3 separate regions of the Homo sapiens genome follow, and regions 1 and 3 are each linked to region 2. Evidence: promoter capture Hi-C in 16 types of primary human blood cells and fetal thymus (Javierre and others, 2016). All regions are on one chromosome and are shown on one strand. Each heading gives the region's core, a stretch centred on a gene start or on the middle of the fragment in contact. The rest is flanking DNA. Distances are from core to core; before and after follow the strand shown. Region 1 overlaps ZFAND2B (zinc finger AN1-type containing 2B). Region 2 holds the start of CTDSP1 (CTD small phosphatase 1). Region 3 overlaps STK16 (serine/threonine kinase 16).

Region 1 (3,639 bases), core at 491-2,990, 810 kb before region 2:
AGCCTGCCTCCTTCCATTGAGGGTTTTGAGTGGCAGGAGCAGTTTTACCTGGACCCTCTCTATAGGCAACGTCAGCGCTGGATACATCTAATGAGAGGGCCATCCAGGCTTCTCTGGCCAAAGTCTGTGCCAACCGCACCACCATCGTAGTGGCACACAGGTACAGGACTACAGGCCTGGGGCGGCTGGTGATGTGGCCCGCTTTGGGTGGGGTAGTAGGCGACTGATCTTTGACTTCTCAGGCTCTCAACTGTGGTCAATGCTGACCAGATCCTCGTCATCAAGGATGGCTGCATCGTGGAGAGGGGACGGTAAGAGACACATAGATCAAAAGGACAGGTCTTCTGAATTGGGGGCTCCAGGAAAGGGGGCATGAAGTCCCAGGGGCTTCTGGAGGGGACCTCCCTTCCCATCCCGTCCTCTCTGTGGGCTGGTGGCAAGGACCCTCGGGGTAAAACTAATGGTTAGGACTCACACTTTTCTCCTCACCCCAGACACGAGGCTCTGTTGTCCCGAGGTGGGGTGTATGCTGACATGTGGCAGCTGCAGCAGGGACAGGAAGAAACCTCTGAAGACACTAAGCCTCAGACCATGGAACGGTGACAAAAGTTTGGCCACTTCCCTCTCAAAGACTAACCCAGAAGGGAATAAGATGTGTCTCCTTTCCCTGGCTTATTTCATCCTGGTCTTGGGGTATGGTGCTAGCTATGGTAAGGGAAAGGGACCTTTCCGAAAAACATCTTTTGGGGAAATAAAAATGTGGACTGTGCGAGGATCACTGTGGCTTTGTGGGATGGGGTACTGCAGCGGGCCTCTACCCATAAGTCAGATGAGCATTCTTGACACGGCTTTCCTGTTTGAGGTTAGAGAGGAGAGAGAAACACACCACTTGTACGTTTTATCAACTGCCAAGATCCTTTATTTTTTCCAGGCCCCTTCCTGCCCACTCCACATCGGGGCAGCTCCAGCATAAGGGAGATGACATGATGAAGGGGCTAAGAGTAGGGCCTGGCCAGCATCCACTGAGGGCCCAACCAGGGAACAGTTGCTAGCCGCTCTCTTCCATGCAGCTGGAGCACTAGCAAGGCCTTCCAGAGGCTCCCAGGGCGACCTCCACATCACTCCCGCTTGTCTCTGCCCTCCAGGGTGCTCCGGGCCTCCTCTCCCTGTGTACCCTAGAGGTGTGAGGGCCACAGTCCTCCTCAGGTGAACCTCCCTCCCCAAGCCCAGGGCCCTAGCACAGGCTGCAGTTGGACGGCTTCGAGCTGCGGCTCTGGGCCTAGAGCAAAGAGAGGGGAAGGAGGGGAAGACACAGTGCAACGTCAAGGAAATGAGGGACAGCCCTCATTTCAGAGCTCAGCATGGGCTGGAGTCATACTGAAAACCAGACGATAACCACCATTCCAAAACTCTGCACCACTAGGAAGAACCCCCATCCCTGACTTCTTCCTCCCTTCCACTGCAGCATATATCTTCAGCCCAGCCTCATACCTGCTGCCGCTGGTATTCTGCCTCACTGGCTGACAGTGCTTGTGCTAAAGCTAGGTCTTCTTCCTCCTGACAACTGGGAGGGAGAAACAGTTTAAGTTGGATGATGGTAAGATCTGAAATTTGAACATCTGATCTGTGTGTGTTGGGCCTCATGGTGCTGAGCACTGCTGAGGATTATCTCAATCTTCATAGCAACACTACAAGGTGGGTATTAGTATTGTCCCCGTTTTATAGAGGAAATGAAGGCTCCATGGGTTAAATAACTTGTCAAAGATCATATAGTTCATCTTAATTTTGAGACCAAGTTGCCAGCGATTATCTTGCATTGTGTCAGAGTGGTCCCACCTACCTGCCTCCAGACCAAGCCCTTGCCCACAGCTTGCGCTCTCTTTCACAAGAGGGTAAGGTACCTTGGAACCTGGGGTTTGGTTTCTGCCAGGGACATTTCCAGGGCCCGCTGCAGAGCTTCATCCTCACTCTACAAAGGGAGAAAGAAGACCAGCGTCCTTGGACTTCACTCTCTGTGTGTTTGTTTCTGTCCATCCAACCTCTGCCCAACTCACCAGGCCATTCTGCAAAGCAATCACTGGAGGGGCTGTCCAGGACGGAGATCGGGTTGTGGCTCTACGACAGACATTGAAGAGGTGGAGGTCAGAGGTGTGAAGGGGAAAAAGGGGGAGCAGGGAAACGGGCAGGCCTACCTGCTGGGAGAGGTACAGGAAGGCATGGTTTGACTTGGGCTGGGGACAGTGCTTGTAGAAGCCACAGCTTGTGCTCTGGAGATGGCAGCAAGTCTGTAGGGAAGAGAGATTTTTGGCATGTCTCCAAGAACTAGCCTTACCCAGGAAGTCAGGAGGGGAGTTCTGGAAAAACATGCACTTGAAAAGGAAGCTAAAAGACTCCCCTAGCCGACAGGGTAGGGTTGAAGCTCCCCAATTTATAACAACAGAGCTTGAGTCAGTTCCAAAAGAATGCTTCCCAAAAGCAAGTGGAGGACTTGGCTGCCATTACCCTGCCCGGCTGGTTGGGTGCCCCTCCCCAGAGCAATCATGGTCCAGTGGATGCCGGTGCTTGATGCAGAAGTTTCGGCTACAGCGTTCACAGGTCAGTTTCATCATTTCTCGCTGCCGGCAGCCAGCGCGTTCACACTTATTGGTGAAGATCTGAGGTGAAGTGAGAAGGTTGTCTCTGCTGAGACTCTGATTAGCTGTTTGGGTTTCCAGGCATCCGTAGTCCCAGCTGGGTTGTGGCTGACCCCTACAATGTTTACCTTACGTTTTTGCTGTGCTGGATCAGAGCGACAGTCTCTGTCAATGTGCTCTCCCACAGCACGGTCAGGGGGCTCCCCTCTGGCCACAGGCACAGGCACATTACAGAGAGGGCACACAGGTACCTGGATATCCTGTAGTCAAGGAGCAAGGGTCAGTCTGTGGCCCACTCCAGTCCAACAAATCTCTGGTCCTGAAAGAACTTGGATATGACCCACCACAAACACGCAAAAAAACAGTGTTTCCCAGCACTGACAGCCTCAGAAGGACAAAAGGGAGAAGAAACGTGAGACACAGATTTGGGGGATTCTGCACGCATTCTCCATCTGCCTGCTTTCACCCTGAGGATCGCCCCCTCACCTTTTGGTAAGCAGATCCACAGTGATGCTGGGCGTAGGCCACATGGTCTGCGCAGAAGATGCCTGAGCAGGCATCACACTTAAGCGGCAGAAAATCTGCAAAGAGTTGGTCGGATTGCAGGTCCAGCGGGACCTCGATGTCCTTCTCTCTCACTCAAGTCTTCCACTCGGGAAGGAAAACGCCACCCTATTTTCGACACACCGCCCCTTCCCAAGCCCATTACCTCCTTGGCCACGCCCCCTCTGCCGCTGACCACCCCCCCCCAGCTTCAAGCCCCGCCCCCCGGCATTGCCAGCCTGGGAGCCCACCCTTCCCTCCCAACCTGCGGTTCAAAGTCCCTGTCCGCTGGGCCCCGCCCCCCGCGCGCTCCGCCCCTCACCCAAGCGCTGACAGCTCGGCTCCGAACAGTGAGCGCCGAGGTCCGGAAACTCCATCGCCAAGCCGGGCAGGGTCTGCTAGGAGAAGCGACGAGTGCTGAGCGTCTTTAGGGCTCGTGCTCGAAGTCCGCACCGCGACCCCG
Region 2 (4,073 bases), core at 907-3,406:
AGGAACCCCAGGCCCCAGGAACAGATACTTCCCCCTTCCCAGCTTTGCCCCTGCCAGCTCTAGGGCTTGGGTAGGCCTCTTGGCTCTTTGAGACCTCTCTAAAAACCAAGGTAGGAAAAAGCTTCCACTTATGAGGGAGAATTCAGTTTCCCCACAGTGGGCAGGGCCTGGCAGGGGAGGCTGCCACCCTCCTACTCTGCACCTTTCAGGTCTGCAAGTCCATCCTGAAAAGCTCAGTCAGGAGCCCCTTCCCCTAAAGCCCTGAAGACTGAGTCCAGGTGCCCCCGTGGCCCCACCTGGCCCCCACGCACCTTAGGGATGGCGCCATTCTCCTCCACAAGCAGGGGCGCCCCGCTGTGAGCAGGCAGGGCCTCCCCATCATCCCGGCAGACACAGCAGAAGAGTGAGTGGAGGATGCCCCGGCTTCGGGGCTTCTGGGAAGCTGCTGACTTCTGGTCACCTGAAGTAGGGAGGCACAAGTTGGAGGCTCGGTGCACACTGGCCTGCAGAATCCTGCATGTGTGCCCAGGTGTGAACCCCTGAGCCAGGAGGATCTTGCCGTGGCCCCTTCATCCAGACACACGAAGGCAGCTCCTGACTTTCTCTGAAACGCCCCTGTCAGGGCTCCACAATCAACTGCAAGGCTCCTGCAGCTCCCAGACAAATAGGTCTAGCAGGTATTAAGGCGCCCACATAGGGAGTGCGTGGCCTGGAGAAGGAGGTCCTGGGGTGCTCTCTCCCTGCCTCTCACAGCCTCCATGACTGCTGCTGATCAGCCCCATTGCGGTGCCTCCTGACCCCACCTTACCTGAGCACCCCTGCTCAGGACAGCCAGGGCCTGGGACCCAGGGCAGTCCACCCCTGCCCTCCCTCCATCCTCTCCACCCCCGTGGGTACGAAGTCCTCACTGCGGCTGGGCCCAGAGGCAGGGGTGCAGTCCCGCGGCCTGGGGCCAGTGTCCAGTGGCCATCTGTTTGCCCTGCCCCGCCCAGACCTCCGACCTGGAGCCCAGCAGCCTGATTGACAGATACCCCTCCCACCCCACCCCCCTCCGGCCCCCTGCAACTAGCCTTTCCACCTTGCCCTCAGTTCCGGGGCAGCCAGACCCAGGCGAGGGTGGGCAGACCTGGGGGCAGCGTCCAGATCCTGAGGTCCACACGGGGAAAAGGAGAAGACAGACCCCCCCACCCCGGCCCAGCCACGCTGGGGGACGCAGCCTCGTCGGGGCGGCGAGGCTTTGCGGGGTGGTGCGTGCCCACTAGGCGCACGACTCTCCCCGCGGGCGCCAAGCGACTCTTGGAAGTGCCGGCCGTCCTCTCTGTGCCTCCGAGGGGGTCGGCGCCTCCACGCGTGACGCGAAGTTTGTGGGGAACGTAGCTGTGTGTTGGCGGGAGATCCCTCCAAGCCTCCCCAGCCTGCTGTCACCTCGGCGCCCCCTCCCAAGACCCTACCGGACCGCAGCCCGGGGGGGTGGGGGTGGGGGGTGGGGCGGAGTCTCAGCGGGTGGCCCATAGGCGCCCTCCTCAGCTCCCCCATCTCCCAGCCCCATTGGCGCCAATGGTGGGGGGGCGCCCATGCACCACGCAATGCCTGCCAGGAAACCCCCGAAGAGTTCCCTCTCTATTCCTGCCTCAGTTTCCTCACCTCGAGCGAACAGGAGCGCCCCAAAGGCGCCAGGCCCCGCCCCGCGTCTCTGAGCCTCCTCTGAGTTCAAACTCTCTCCCTGCTCCCTCTCGGGCTGGGAGCTTCGGGCACAGCTAAGGCGGCCGCCCGGGGCGGCGGCGGCGGCTCCCCTGGGGAAGATCCCGGCCCCTTCTCTCCTCCCACGGCGCCCCGGCTTCGGCCCCCTCCCCGCAGCCCCGGTACCTTTGCCCCGCAGCGGGCCCCGAGCCTCCTCCTTGCTGATCTGAGTAATGACGGCCGAGCTGTCCATGGGGCCGGGCGCGCTCCGCTCCGGCCGGACTCTGGCCCGGGCGCCCGGCCTCCCCCCCGGCTGGGGCCGGAATCGGGGCGCGGGGGGGAGGGGAGGGGTGGGAGGGAGGGATCCCCGCGAGCTCCGGAGGGGAGGGGAGCCAGGTTCTAGGGGGGAGGGGGAGGGAGGGGGCGCGGAGGAAACTTTGTTACAACATGGAGTTTCCTTCCCGCGAGGCGGATGCAAACATGGAACCCAGGCGCCGTTTCAAGGCTCCCCCTTAAAAGGGCAACGGCTTCGGCGTGACCTGGACTCGGCTGCGGCTTTCGCCACTTCTGGGACCGGCGCGGCTAGGCGGACTGGGAGGCGGGCCGGGCCGGGTTCCTGCCGCGCTCCAGGGGGCGTCGCCTCCCTTCCTGCCGCCCGCCGGCGGGGCTGAGTCTCTGCGGCTGCGTGGCAGGCCCGGCACCCGGCTCACCGTTCCAGGCCGCCGAGCGCCCTCGGCCAAGGCCCGCCCGCCGGGAGCGCCCACGCCGGGGAGTGCCCGAGTGCGGCGCGGCTCCACCTCTGCGTTTTCTGAAGACCCGGGACTAGAGGCTTCTCGGTTTCCTCGTTGAGGACTTGGAGATAGCACTACCTCATCTGTAAAATGGGTCTTCTCTCCTGTCTGGTGGTCGCAGAGATCACCTCGCAAGGACGTCAAGAGCCAGCGAAGGCTCTGCTGGCCCGAAACAGCTGTGCAAACCTCAGAATCACGCTCTTGAATGGGACGGTCGCCGCCCCCCGCAGCCCCAGGGCGAGGTGCCCCCGGTCTGTAGGACGTGAAATTCTAACTCTCTGCCCTGGGAAAGCCCCCTGCCGACCTCTCCCCACGGCCCCACCCGGGGCCCCGCACGTCTACCCGCCGCGCACGGGCCACCGCGCGTTCCCGCCTGAAGTTTTCGTACGCGCTGTTCCTTTCGCGTAGCCAAATTCCACCGACCTCGAGGAAATGCCACCTTCTCCAGGGGCCTTCCCAGACCCCCTCCCCTGCCCGCGGTCGACGGCCGCCCTGTGATTACTGGGGGTGCGGTGGGAGTCACTGGACTCGCTGCCGATCCTAGGAGCCCAGCACGGCGCCGCACGCGGTGGGCCCAAAGCCCGACCGTGGGGGACCTCAAACCAGAGGCCCTCAAGGCCCGTTCCACCCGGCCTGTGGCGCAGTGCTGGGCACTTGGGAACGGAGGTCCCTGTCTTCTCGCTGCAAGCCCCTCCGTGGTGCGCGCCGTGGGTCTGCGGGTTGGTCTTTTTCCTCGTTTATGAAGTTCTTTTCACTCGTCGTTACTATTTTGTAAGTTCACCATTTAAAAATTAATAATGCCAAGCCCGACAAACACCCCTCGGCACTTCCTCCCCTCCCCCTCTCCCGCGGGCCTCCGTGGCGGGGCGGGGCGGGCGCGTCCTGTCCCGTCCGGCCGCCGGGTGCGACGCGGCGCACGTCCGCCAGGCCCTGCCGAGGGGGAGCCGGGGAGGGGAGGCCCCGCGCGGGGGCCGGGAGGGGAAGGGAGGGGAGCGGCGTCTGCCAGAAGGCGCGGCGGCTTCGTGCGCTGAGGCTGGGAGTAGGGGCGGGAGGGGACTGTCGGGGACTGATACCCCGGTCCCCGGGCTGGATCCCTCGGCCCTCCTCCTGCTCCTGGGTAGCCCACGGGGCGGCCACCATTGCGCTTCATCACCGTGATCGCCACACGCTGCTGGCGTTTTCCTAGGCCTGCTCTGGCTGCGCCCCCTAATCTCATTTACCCCTTAGAACGGCCTCCTTCTTAACCCATTTCACAGATGAGGAAACTGAGTTTCAAGAAAGGAAGCGACGTGCTTCGGGTCTACCGGCAAGGGCAAAGGCGGGATTCCAGCCTGGGAGCGGGACATCTGTCTCCCCTGCGGTCCGGCCCCCTGGGTGGGGCCTCGGCTTTATCTCCGGATGCGGGGCCCTCATGACCCCAAAAGGAAGCGTGTGGCGAGGGACTGAGTGGAGTCGTGGCCTCGCCCTTGGCCTGGGTTGGGTGGCGCGCTTTCCTCTCCCTCTGTGAAGGGGGCTGGTACCTGGCCGGCTGTCCCCACACCCACCATTCCCAGACGCGCCATCCTGAGCTCACAGGATTCCTCAGGAATCCCCCACCTCCTC
Region 3 (4,091 bases), core at 866-3,365, 850 kb before region 2:
AGGTTCCACTTCCTTTCTGGGTATTTGGAAACCGTCACCCCGCCATTTCGGTGTGGGAAGAGCGCGCGGGCCCTGCCGGACTTTAGTGCTTTAGGGGTTAATTTCGGGCTGACAGGGACGGAGCCTAAGGCAGTGAGCGCCCCAGTACCCTCAAACCTTATTGCTGGCCCCTGCTGTCTGAGCTTACAAGCATTACCGCCGCTATTTCCGTGCGGGCTGACACGGGAGATGAAAGTGGTGAAGACACCCAGGGTGCGGGGGTGGAGGTGGGGAGAGGAGCCAGATGGGATTGATCCCCAGAGCCAGATGGGATTTAAAGGTGAGGGAGGAGGGCATCCTGATGGCGTGTGGTCAGTTGATGCCAGATTGGATGGCTGAGACACCTCTGCAGCTTACAGGAAAGAAAGAGGGAAAGGGTTCTATGAATTCTAGCTGTTCATACTCAAAGCAAATAATTAATCAAGTGGGGGGGGGGCCTCTAGCTGTAAACCCATACCTCTAGGAAACCTTTTGTCATGTGGAGCCACAGTGCTCACTTGACAGATTCCCCACTGAGAAGTGGGCTAAGAGGTTGGCCTGCATTGCTGGGTGCCTCCAGGTGGGGAGTCCTGTACCTGGGAGCCCGGGCAGGCTGCTACTCTCTTCTCACCTCTGCCCAGCCCCAACCCTCCACTCTTGCCAACTGAGTCATCCTAGCTGGTAGATGATAGGGTGGAAGAGAGACTCGCAAGGTGAGGACTTGTGGATGTGGGGCTCATGCTGTGTCCCCTCTCTCTATCCCTCAGCGTGAATGCATCTCAGTCCACGTGGGGCAGGCAGGTGTCCAGATGGGCAATGCCTGCTGGGAGCTCTATTGCTTGGAACATGGGATTCAGCCTGATGGGCAGATGCCCAGTGACAAGACCATTGGTGGAGGGGACGACTCCTTCACCACCTTCTTCTGTGAAACTGGTGCTGGAAAACACGTACCCCGGGCAGTTTTTGTGGATCTGGAGCCTACGGTCATTGGTGAGAGGAAGTGGGGACAAAATTGAAGGGGGTGGAGCATGACTCAAAGCTTCTCCCTGGAGAGAGAGGGTATTTAGACCAGGCATTCCTAGCCCTGAAAATTCCTAGCCGTACTTGAAGCTGCAGAAGGCAAGCTGATCTGAGACTGGCCTGGGCAGCTGGTCTGGGTTTCTCTCACACTCTGGTATCTCAGGCTGGCAGGAGGATGAGTCCTTCCATGCATCTGGCCACAGCTACCACCCTGGGGGAGGAAGGTCCCTGCTGAGCATAGCTTTGTGGTTTTTGCCCTTCCAGATGAGATCCGAAATGGCCCATACCGACAGCTCTTCCACCCAGAGCAGCTCATCACTGGGAAAGAGGATGCTGCCAACAACTATGCCCGTGGTCACTATACCATTGGCAAGGAGATCATTGACCCAGTGCTGGATCGGATCCGCAAGCTGGTGAGAGTGTGTCTTGGGAGGGAGGGAACTTTTGAGACTGTGCTAATGGTCAGGAATATTTTTTTTCAGATCCTTTCAGGAGGTCATCTCTAACTATACATGGTCTCGAGTGTGGTGCTGCTATGGCATCCTCAGTATTTGCCCTGACTGCTGATGTATCTTACGCTTTATGGAGCCAGGTGATAGAGTCCCTCAGGCCCCTCCCCTACCTAAACTGTTCTTTCTCGTTCTTGCCTTTCAGTCTGACCAGTGCACAGGACTTCAGGGCTTCCTGGTGTTCCACAGCTTTGGTGGGGGCACTGGCTCTGGCTTCACCTCACTCCTGATGGAGCGGCTCTCTGTTGACTATGGCAAGAAATCCAAGCTGGAATTCTCCATCTACCCAGCCCCCCAGGTGTCTACAGCCGTGGTCGAGCCCTACAACTCTATCCTGACCACCCACACCACCCTGGAGCACTCAGACTGTGCCTTCATGGTGGACAACGAAGCAATCTATGACATCTGCCGCCGCAACCTAGACATCGAGCGCCCAACCTACACCAACCTCAATCGCCTCATTAGCCAAATTGTCTCCTCCATCACAGCTTCTCTGCGCTTTGACGGGGCCCTCAATGTGGACCTGACAGAGTTCCAGACCAACCTGGTGCCCTACCCTCGCATCCACTTCCCCCTGGCCACCTATGCACCAGTCATCTCTGCAGAAAAGGCATACCACGAGCAGCTGTCGGTGGCAGAGATCACCAATGCCTGCTTTGAGCCTGCCAACCAGATGGTAAAGTGTGATCCCCGGCACGGCAAGTACATGGCCTGCTGCCTGCTGTACCGTGGAGATGTGGTGCCCAAGGATGTCAACGCTGCCATTGCCGCCATCAAGACCAAGCGCAGCATTCAGTTTGTGGACTGGTGCCCCACAGGCTTCAAGGTTGGTATCAACTACCAGCCTCCCACTGTGGTGCCTGGGGGTGACCTGGCCAAGGTGCAGCGTGCCGTGTGCATGCTGAGCAACACGACCGCCATCGCCGAGGCCTGGGCCCGCCTGGACCACAAGTTCGACCTGATGTATGCCAAGAGGGCGTTTGTGCACTGGTATGTGGGTGAGGGCATGGAGGAGGGTGAGTTCTCCGAGGCCCGTGAGGATATGGCTGCCCTGGAGAAGGATTATGAGGAGGTGGGCATCGACTCCTATGAGGACGAGGATGAGGGAGAAGAATAAAGCAGCTGCCTGGAGCCTATTCACTATGTTTATTGCAAAATCCTTTCGAAATAAACAGTTTCCTTGCACGGTTTCTTGTTCCCTCTGAGTGCTTGAGCTTCTGCTGCCTTCCCCTTCATGCTGCTGCTGCTCTGTTTGCTGTTCATGACCCTTATCCCTTCCATCGCTGAAGGTGAGACCTGCAAAGGGGTTCTTGCCAGGCCCAGGAAGCATAACCCCAGGGACTTTAAATTGAAGTCCTAGGGTTACTCAGTATAGGGAGGAAATGAGGACCAAAATCCAGGCACAAACTGTTGAAGGATGAGTCTTCAGCTCCTTTCCAAGTAGGAGTATAATCCAGTGGTTTCTGTCTTTGAAAGTTAGACTGCTACCCTGTTCTTCCTGCTGCCTCTACATTTACCAACTCTGGAAGCAAGGCTTGGCCCAGGCTCCTCTGTGCATTATGAGGGTTTGGGAGTGGGGCTGGGCTGGCCCAGAGTTCCTGGGCATGGAGCCACGTCATAAGCTTGGGGGATGGGAGGGAACACAGGCGATCTCCTAGAGTTGTTTGTGCCACTGCACCTCTGAGCAGCTTTGCATAGCTTCCTGTCTTGCTGCTTTGCTGGAGCTGGGGCTGTGCCATTAAAAGTCAGGTCATCTCCCCTCTGTTTGTGATTTCTTTCTGGCCTCAGCCTCTGTGCTAGCTAGTGGGAGACTCCTGCTAGGGCCCTGGGGAAAGCTTCAACTTTGCTAACAGGAGCCCCAGGCCCCATGCTGATGTCATACTGTGGGGTAGACATGGTTCGGGGGAGGAGGCTTGGATCACAAAAGAGCAGGAGATGCCAACCCTGCCCTTGCCTTTCCTCCCTGGTGATTCAGGGAACAGAGCCCTTCCCTAGGGAACAGGTTTGAAGCCCAGCTAAGACAGGGCCCCTGTTTACTCAGCAGAGTAGGCAGGAAGTGGCAGCTGGATACTGCCACACCACACTGCCTCATTAATCATTAACCATGTATGAGCTTGAACGATCAGGGAGACACAGGCCAAAACAGCTGCCGCTGCCACCTCCACTCCCCTCGCCCCTAGGCTGAGGATGGGAGACCTGTAATCTACCTGTCTCAAAGCTTCCTCAGGTGTCTCCACCCAGAGGCCCTTGCCTAGCAAACCGGCTAGGCAGCTTTGACTAAGCTACTCACCCCAGGAGTGAAGGAAGGAAAGAACTAGTTGAGTGTTTTTAGGGGGCCCTAGTTCTTGACACAGGCAGATGCCAGCTTGAGCCCAAGCAGCTTTAAGTTTTGATCTAAGACAAGCTAGAACTGTCCACTGCTAACCAACCTCCTGTAGAATGAAGTCACACCATTGCCGACTCTGCACCATTCCTCCTTCCCAGGCAGTTCGCCTGAAATGGCAACCTGACTTTGGGCCCCTTGCACCTCTTCTCTCACTCCAG

What was found. Contacts are between HindIII fragments. The CHiCAGO score rates a contact against its expected background, and 5 or more counts as called.
Region 1: a contact is called between a fragment that was not itself captured here and the fragment with the promoter of CTDSP1 in region 2, in 1 of 17 cell types (non-activated CD4 T cells). The highest score is 5.3, in non-activated CD4 T cells.
Region 3: a contact is called between a fragment that was not itself captured here and the fragment with the promoter of CTDSP1 in region 2, in 6 of 17 cell types (non-activated CD4 T cells, activated CD4 T cells, naive CD8 T cells and 3 more). The highest score is 9.0, in non-activated CD4 T cells.

Annotation. Positions count from the first base shown.
Region 1 is chr2:219,206,902-219,210,540 of GRCh38, reverse strand. It overlaps ZFAND2B (zinc finger AN1-type containing 2B), which reads right to left. Exons shown (of 9, transcript NM_138802.3): 1 at 3,499-3,639; 2 at 3,120-3,214; 3 at 2,762-2,893; 4 at 2,503-2,654; 5 at 2,193-2,285; 6 at 2,055-2,115; 7 at 1,902-1,969; 8 at 1,492-1,564; 9 at 893-1,279. The coding sequence starts at 3,553. The coding sequence ends at 1,235. ABCB6 (ATP binding cassette subfamily B member 6 (LAN blood group)) reads left to right here. Exons shown (of 19, transcript NM_005689.4): 17 at 66-160; 18 at 243-311; 19 at 495-769. The coding sequence ends at 603. Among named protein-coding and RNA genes, the nearest start is that of ZFAND2B, 1.9 kb to the right of the region's middle. RefSeq lists an enhancer at 2,301-2,800 and a silencer at 3,468-3,639. The HindIII fragment of the contact is 8,332 bases long and covers 1-3,639 here.
Region 2 is chr2:218,397,951-218,402,023 of GRCh38, reverse strand. It overlaps CTDSP1 (CTD small phosphatase 1), which reads right to left and starts at 2,156. Exons shown (of 7, transcript NM_021198.3): 1 at 1,867-2,156; 2 at 312-460. The coding sequence starts at 1,933. RefSeq lists silencers at 1,709-1,868, 2,029-2,108, 2,179-2,548, 3,239-3,508. The HindIII fragment of the contact is 4,794 bases long and covers 124-4,073 here.
Region 3 is chr2:219,248,925-219,253,015 of GRCh38, reverse strand. It overlaps STK16 (serine/threonine kinase 16), which reads right to left. Exons shown (of 8, transcript NM_001330213.2): 8 at 2,679-4,091. It overlaps TUBA4A (tubulin alpha 4a), which reads left to right. Exons shown (of 4, transcript NM_006000.3): 2 at 786-1,008; 3 at 1,303-1,451; 4 at 1,693-3,306. The coding sequence ends at 2,664. Among named protein-coding and RNA genes, the nearest start is that of TUBA4B, 2.3 kb to the left of the region's middle. RefSeq lists enhancers at 2,784-2,903, 2,944-3,033. The HindIII fragment of the contact is 2,112 bases long and covers 1,060-3,171 here.